2 separate regions of the Homo sapiens genome follow, and region 1 is linked to region 2. The links are contacts of gene promoters, found by promoter capture Hi-C in human tissues and cell types (Jung and others, 2019). All regions are on one chromosome and are shown on one strand. The core of a region is centred on a gene start or on the middle of the fragment in contact, and the rest is flanking DNA. Distances in the headings are between cores, read along the strand shown. Region 1 overlaps DNAI2 (dynein axonemal intermediate chain 2). Region 2 holds the start of GPRC5C (G protein-coupled receptor class C group 5 member C).

Evidence for each region. The method cuts DNA at HindIII sites, captures the fragments that hold promoters and counts their contacts. A contact is called where the count stands out against the background at its distance.
Region 1: a fragment that was not itself captured here is called in contact with the fragment with the promoter of GPRC5C in region 2 in 4 of the 25 tissues and cell types used here (H1 embryonic stem cells, dorsolateral prefrontal cortex, spleen and 1 more).

The regions. Positions count from the first base shown.
Region 1 is chr17:74,298,160-74,301,926 of GRCh38, reverse strand. DNAI2 (dynein axonemal intermediate chain 2) reads right to left here. Exons shown (of 14, transcript NM_023036.6): 7 at 2,070-2,209; 8 at 759-881. Among named protein-coding and RNA genes, the nearest start is that of DNAI2, 26 kb to the right of the region's middle. The HindIII fragment of the contact is 3,967 bases long and covers 189-3,767 here.
Region 2 is chr17:74,430,359-74,434,222 of GRCh38, reverse strand. GPRC5C (G protein-coupled receptor class C group 5 member C) reads right to left here and starts at 2,135. Exons shown (of 4, transcript NM_022036.4): 1 at 2,082-2,135. RefSeq lists a silencer at 3,123-3,262. The HindIII fragment of the contact is 9,677 bases long and covers 1,692-3,864 here.

The sequences.
Region 1 (3,767 bases), core at 923-3,422, 130 kb after region 2:
CTTCCTTCCTTCCTTCTTTCCTTCCTTCCTTCCTTCCTTCCTTCCTTCCTTCCTTCCTTCCTTCTTTCCTTCCTTCTTTCCTTTTCTTTCCCTCTCTCTCCCTCTCTTTCTTTCTTTCTTTCTTGGTAAAGACTGGGCGGGCGGTGGGGGGGGTCTCATTATGTACCCAGGCTGGTCTTAAATTCTTGGCCTCCCAAAGTGCTGGGATTACAGGCGTGAGCCACCCTGCCCGACCTGAACTTTGATATTTCTTTGTCATTCTCAGTGACTGAACACCGAGACCATGCTTGTGCTCTGGTTTTCCAAGGAGCCTGCTTTGACCTCATTTTCCTCTCCAGTACCTCTTCCTTCCCCAGAGGAAGGCAGGTGACCAGCCTAGGGACCCCGTGCCAGGCAGGGCCAGGACCTGGGTTGGAGTCCAGGCCTCCCGATGTTGGTCCTGGGCGTGACCTTCCCCACAAAACAGGGCTTTTCTGGAATTGTTCTGTCAAAAGATTGCCCTCTGTGTTCAGCTGGGCCACTGGCCAAAAGATGACTTGGTGCCATGATGACTATGGTGTCCTTCTTCGAGAAGCTCTGCTGCCCCCTGCTGGAAAGTTGTTGTAAAGGCCACACACGTCTAGGATGGCTGCAGTGAGGGTGGCCTCCCTGGGCTGGTGCTGGGTTCCACGAGCACCTGATATCCTAGCAATGGCCTGTCTTTAGCCCTGGCTGCCCTGTCAATGCAAGTCGGGGAAGGGACAGCAAGGGACACTCACCAAAGTAGATTCGAACTCCAGGGAGATGGCCCCCAAGGCATTTTCCAACTGTTCCTTCTTGGTGATGTCCAAGATCACAACTTCAGTGGGCTCGCTCATCTTTCGGATGTCCCACCACATGACCTGGTGGGAGGAGGGGCGACAGTGAGACTTCGAGGCCCTGTATTTCCCCTGGCTTTTGCCTTCTCCGCCCTCACCCCACCGTCCTGGGGTCAGCCACTGGGCCACAAAGGATGGAGCTCCCGGCAATTCGTGGGAGCAAATACACTTTGAGGATTGCTGTTCTGTCCACAGTTCCCACACCTGGCTGATCATCAGAGTCGCCGGCAAGCTTCATACAACCCAGATGCTGAGGCCTCGCCCTCGACCTACTGAATCAAAACCTCCAGGTGCAAGGCCAAGAATCGGTATATGCCAAGACTCCCCACAATAAGGCAATATCCGGCAATGTTAAAAATGCATGTGTGCTCCGACCTAGAAGTCCCACTGCCAGCAATGTCTGCTGTAGATATATCCCCGCATGTGTGCAACAATCTGTGTATAAAGATGCTCTTTGCTGTATTTTTTGGGGGGTAGCAACAAAATATTAGAATCCATATATAAATTATGGTACACCCACATGATGCAGTTATTAATAGGCATGGGGCAGCGGTGTATGAAATATGAAACTATCTCCAAGGTACACACAATGGAAAACATCGAGTACAGAATAGTGTGTGAAGTGTGCAAAAAGAAAGAGTAAAGAAGAGAGAGGTGTGTTTCCTTGCATACGCAGAGACTAGCTCTGAAGGCAGACATAAGAGAGGGAGGGAGGGGAGGAGGTGCAGGCAGAGGTGAGAGGAAGGCATTTTCTTTTTTGCACCCTTTAGATTCTGTTCCGTGGGCATGTATTATCACTACTCAACTTAAAAATAAAGTGTTAGGCTGGGCGCAGTGGCTCATGCCTGTAATCCCACCACTTTGGGAGGCCAAGGCGGGTGGATCACCTGAGGTCAGAGTTCGAGACCAGCCTGGCCAACATAGTGAAGCACCATCTCTACTAAAAATAAAAAATTAACCAGGCATAGTGGCAGGCGCCTGTAATCCCAGCTACTTGGGAGGCTGAGGCAGGAGAATTGCTTGAACCCGGGAGGCAGAGGTTGCAGTGAACCAAGATCGTGCCATTGCACTCCAGCCTGGGCAACAAGAGTGAAACTCCATCTCAAAATAAAATGTGTTAAAGGAAATGTCCCCAGGGGTTCTGATGGGGAACCAGGGAACAGTTACTGCCCCTCCCTTCCCTCCTCTCTCCAGTGTCTGGCTGGTGGGTACCTGCCCATCCGTGGAAGCTGAGAAGCACTCGGTGCCCGTCTTCGACTGCAGCCAGATGGTGCCATACACAGGGTCTCGGTGGCTGGACTCAATGGTGGATAGCTCCGCCACCAGGCTGCCCTTTCGGGTGTCCCAGCAGGCTGGTGAGGAAGGAGATGAAGAAGGAGTGGAAGGGGGCACAGGCTTCCTTCCTTAGGGCAGGGAGCAGGGGAGAGAGGGGGCTGCTGCTTCTGGTTTGGCAGGTATGTGGTTTTCTAGAATCAGGGCTTGGTTCAAATCAGCCTGAGTTTCCTACCAGCCTCTACAGACTCTCTGGAGAGACTCCCAGAGTGCAAGCTTCATTCAGTTCCTTGAGCCCCTCCCAGGCATTGACTCCCTACCCAACACTTGGCCCTGGGCAAGCCTCTGGGGATAGGACAGGCATAGTGGCAGGGGAACACATGAGGGTGGTCAGGGAAGGCCTCCTGGAGGAAGTGACAGGTAGCTGAGATGGAAGATGAGCCTCAGGATGGAGGGAGCCAGGCGAGAGGAGAGCCGAGTCCCTAACGTAGGGAAAAGCACGTGGAAAGACTCCATTTAGGTGAATCTCTCTGCTACATTAGCCCATTTCCTCTTATCCTTTGTACCTCTGCTGCCTCTGTTGGAAAGAAACTCACAGAGGAGCTTTAGCCTTTACTGTGATCTGTTATTAGTGCTTTGCCAAGAAAGATGGAAAGGTTATCTGTCCTTTGTCCTGTTAGATTTCGTTTCCATTTTCCCATGAATGCACAATGAGGGCTCACCCTGTCACTCAGAGCTGTTTCTAGGAAAGGCCGTTTTGTAAAATAACAAAAGTACTTAGCTCGTAAGCTTTGACTTAGTATTTCTCCAAGTTCAAGGCATTTTCCCTGAACTCAGCTGGCCCAGAAATATGTTTTCTTAGATACGCCTGCTCAGCCAAGCACAGTGGCTCATGCTTGTAATCCTAGCGCATTAGGAGGCCGAGGCAAAAGGATTGCTTGAGCCCAGGAATCCAAGAGCAGCTTGGGCAACATAGTGAGACCCCGTCTCTACAAAAAATTTAAAACCTAGCTGGGCATGGTGGCACATGCTACTCGGGAGGCTGTTACTCGGGAGGCTGCCTGCTACTCGGGAGGCTGAGGTGGGAGAATTGCTTGAGCCTGGGAGGTTGAGGCTGCAGTGAGCCATGATCGTGCCACTACACCCCAGCCTGGGTGACAGAGCAAGACCCTGTCTCAAAAAATAAAAATAGGCCAGGCCTGGTGGCTCACACCTGTAATCCCAGCACTTTGGGAGGCTGAGGCAGGTGGATCACTTGTGGTCAGGAGTTCAAGACCAGCCTGGCCAACATGATGAAACCCCATCTTTACTAAAAACACAAAAAAATTAGCTGGGCGTGGTGGCAGGCACCTGTAATCCCAGCTTCTCAGGAGGCTGAGGCATGAGAATCACTCGCACCTGGGAGGCAGATGTTGCAGTGAGCTGAGATCATGCCATTGCACTCCAGCCTGGGCAACAAAGCAAGGCTGTCTCAAAAACAAAACAAAAAATAAAAATAAATAAAAATAAAAGATAAGCCTGTTCTACTTTGGCAAAGCAGTGCTCAAGAGTAGGTCCCACTGGGTCCCACATGGCCCTAGAGGGGCCCTTCTTGGAGCAGCGGAGCACCAGAGTCTGGGCTGGTATGAGCTGGCATGA
Region 2 (3,864 bases), core at 886-3,385:
AGCTGAAGCCCAGCTCCAGCCTCAGATTATTTTCTGGACAAAAGGGCCTTTTGCTTCACTTCCCTGGAATCAGTTGTACAAATATTTTTAATCGCCTCCGAAATCGGCCTTTCCCCAGGCTCAGCCACCCTGCCCCCAGCTCTCCTGTGAGTCAGTGCAGTCCAGTTGCTGAACCTCCCTCCTCCCTCCTTCTCTCTCCAGGGGGCGCAGAGGCCTGGTGGGCTCAGAGGCTCAGAGGCCCAGAGGCCCAAGCAGCCCTGACTGGTTTCCCCCAGCAACAAGTGGCTTCATCCAGCAACCGGGGAGACAGCCAGGCCTTCTCACTTCTCCAGAGCAAAACTCCCTTCCTCGCTCCAGCATCATCCACACACAAGCCTGAGACCCCCTCCACCCACCAGGGCCAAGGATACCGCACTGGAAAGAGAGCTCCAGCGCGTCACAGGGCCAACCAAACTCAACACTGACCCATGGCCAATGGCTGTCTTCAAGGGTGCTGTGACCAGGGCACTCTTCAGGGAGGTTCCCCCAGGGATACCACAGAGCACTTGCCTTCCTCCCATCCCACACACTCAAGAGCCTATAGGGAAAGACGATGGCCCGACTGACAGCCTTCCTGCCTCCACTCCTATCGGTCTCTCCCAGTCCCTGGTTAGGTCCCACTGTCTCACCCCTCTGTGCAGGGCGCTCAGGCGTTTACCCCATCGATAAGAAGGCGCACAGGAGACGCCTGTGCCTGGAAGGAGCGGCCTCAGTGTGTAGGTTGGTGGGGGGTGGGTTGGGGTTCCTCGAACCTCAGCCTAGACACCCCACCCCTATCCCCCTGCCCCTGCCCCGCACCAAGACCAGGCATTTGGGCCAAAATGCCCTGAGCTCTCTGAGACTTGGAAATCTTCAAGGGTCTGCTCTGGAATGTCACTCTGGAATGCGCCCCACCCCCCAATGCACTCCCTCCCCCAGTCCAGTTGAAGGCACAGGGGTGGGGGGCCGGCGGGGAGAGGAAGCTCCAGGAGCACAAAACCCTACTTCCAACAGTCTCCTCTCCCGGGCTTTAGGATCTTGATCGTGGAGTTTGTAAGTGATTGGGTCTTCCAGCGTGTAACACTGCGGGCCTGGGGATGGAGGTGCAAAGGACGCTGGAAAAGCCAGCCGGGAGTGGGGGTTCGGGATCTAGGGGCCAGGCTACCAGAAGGGGAGGCGCTTTGATAGTCTGAATTTCCAAACTTCCCTCAGGGGGATTCTGAACCCTCTCGTCCCTACTTGGGTCGACGGTACTGGGGTCTACACCTGCGCTCCCTGGGTGGCTGGAATGGGGAGCAAGGGAACCAGTCACTCTCTCCCATTTTTAGGGCCACAGAAACCTGCCCTCCACATCCACAGTAGCAGGCGGCAGAGAGGACGCCACCCACGAGAGAGAGTGACCGCGGACTCCCACCGAGAGGCAGGCGGTGGAGGGGCTCCTCTTGGAGACCCCGATTATGGAGTGGTTTCCCCTCCCTCCAGCCCGAGCCGCAGCGCCGGGCTCCCCCACCCCCCCAGTCCCCAGCCGGCTCGGGTTTGAAAACTTTCAGCGACCGAGCGGAGTTGGCGCGGCGTCCCCAGCCCGCAGGATGTCCAGTCCCCCCGCCTCTGCCCTCGCCCACTCCCCGCCGTCCCGACCCGACTCTTCCGGGCGGCGGAGCGGGAAGGCAGCAGCCCTTACCTGGGACTCGCCGCCGGCCCCGCTCCAGCGCAGCGTTTGGGGCCAACTCCAGCCCCAGGCGGGGGGCGGGCGGGGGTGGGAGGGACGCGGCGCGGGGCGCTGGGCCAGGCCCGGTCCTGGCTGGGATGGCGGGGCCCGGGCCGGGACGCAGGGCCTGCCTCTCCCTGGGACCGAGGCTGAGCCAGGCGCGCTGGGTTGCTCGCTCTCGCGCGGGCCTGTCCCCAGGCAGGGCTCCTTGCTTTCGGCGAGGGTGGGCTGGAGCCTGCATCACCGTTACATCACCTCCATTCAGGGCGCTAATCGGGCGCCCGCCGCGCTCCAGGTACGTGCGCTCCGTTTACACAGGAACAAAGCCTGCCCGGCCCTCCCCGCCCCGACTCACCTCCAGGCTGAGCCGACTCGTACTTTCCGGCTGGTGAGGGAGATGGGAGTTTCTGGCCCTGCCGGCGTGTGGGTTGTTGCTGTTGACTGCCACGCCCCCGCATGCGGGCGCGCGCACACTCACGCGCACTCACTTTCTGGGCTCGGCCTTCGCCGGGGCAATTGGTGTGAGGGTGCAGCCCTGCGCACCCCCCACCGCGTCTTCCAGAGAGCGCGCCTACGGACACGCGCGGGGCTACCTTGGCGCGTCTCCGTGGGGGACACCTAGCCTTTGTCACCTTCGTCCTGGCCCTCCCGTGAGACACACTTCAGGCACAGTTCGCTGGGAGCGGGCCGGAGCGAGGCGCACACTCAAGACAGAGTCCGTCTTTGTCACGCCTTCTGCGCCCCCTCCCCTCCCCAGCTTGCACACGTGGACACACCGCACACCGAGGTTCGCCTTTTGCACGCACGGTCCTTCTCTGGGACCTCCACCAGTCACCAAGCGTACGTGGGATCGTCACCAAGCGCTCCTCTCACGCGTGGGCCGAGTCCAGACCACTCTGGACCGTGGGCAAAGGTCCCCCTCGGCCCGACTACCCCGCGCCCGGGTTTCCTGTGACCGTTCCAGGTTCTGCCCAACTCGGAGCGCGCTCTCCCCTCCCGGCGTCCCCGTTCCCTGCTCCGACTTGTCCTAATTAGCCTTCACGGTTTTGTTCCCCGAGGTACAGTGTTTAGCGCGACCCCCTGGGCCTCTGCGCTCCGGGACACGTTGGCTCTGACTCCGAGTCCGTCCTTTCCAGGAGGTCAGGTTCCCACCAGCCCCACCCCCCACTCCCTGTTCCGGGGTGGATCTGTGGGTTGCCACCCTTTCCCCTCCGGCCCCAGGAATCTGCTGAAGCTGGACCGCAGAAATTGGGAAGCGAATCCAGGCTGGTACTTATCCAGCCCGATAAACAAGAGATTTTCCGGCCGCCTTCCCCCGGGGCTGCTGGCCTCGCGGGGGGTGGGGTGCGCAGTCCTGGGGGCCCGCAGCGAGGCCTAGTTAGCCCGCGCCAGAGGCCCGTAGGGGCTGAGGCGCACAGAGGAGGGAGAGGTTGTTGGGCCTGGCCAGGGCCCTGGAGACGCGGAGGGAGGGCAGGGCGCCGAGTCTCGGGGTGCCGGTTCTCATGACGCCGAATTGCCTGGGGGATCGCCAGCGGTGCGCCGGTCGGAGCCAGCTGGTGGCGGGGCGGGCGGCCCGGAGTGTTTGCTCAACCCTGAGCGCCCGCGAGGGGGAGGGGAGGCAGCTGGTCACGGGCTAGGGGGTAGCAAGGTGGAGGAGCGGGGGCTGGGAAAGGGGAGGGTATCTCCCGGGCTGCTTGTTTGCGTGCCTGCCGCGGTCTACGACAACCGGGAGTCTAAACTCTATGAATCACCCGGAGTTGCTGGAGCGATAAACCTCAGGCTGGTTCCTCCCCTCGCACACCGGCTTCTCGGACTCCTGGAGGGAATGTTTGCTTAGCGGCCGGAGCTGGCGGTGAGGCCCTGGTTCTCTAGAACCCTGTATCCCTTCCTGGCCTTGCCCTCACGGGCTGGTCTGGGGTGGCGAAGACTGAATTGTTTCAAGTCTCTTCAATATTAAGAAGAGGGGCGCAGTGCTGCTGCTGATCTGTTGCTCACTCCTGGGCTCCCTTCCGTAGCTCCACCTCCCACCCTAAGATTCAGAGGCCCCCATGCCAGGGAGGCAAACGCTTGTAGGGTCCAAGCAGTTGAGTGCCAACGCTAGAAAGGCAAACGGCGGGTCAGACCTAGGCGAGGGGCAT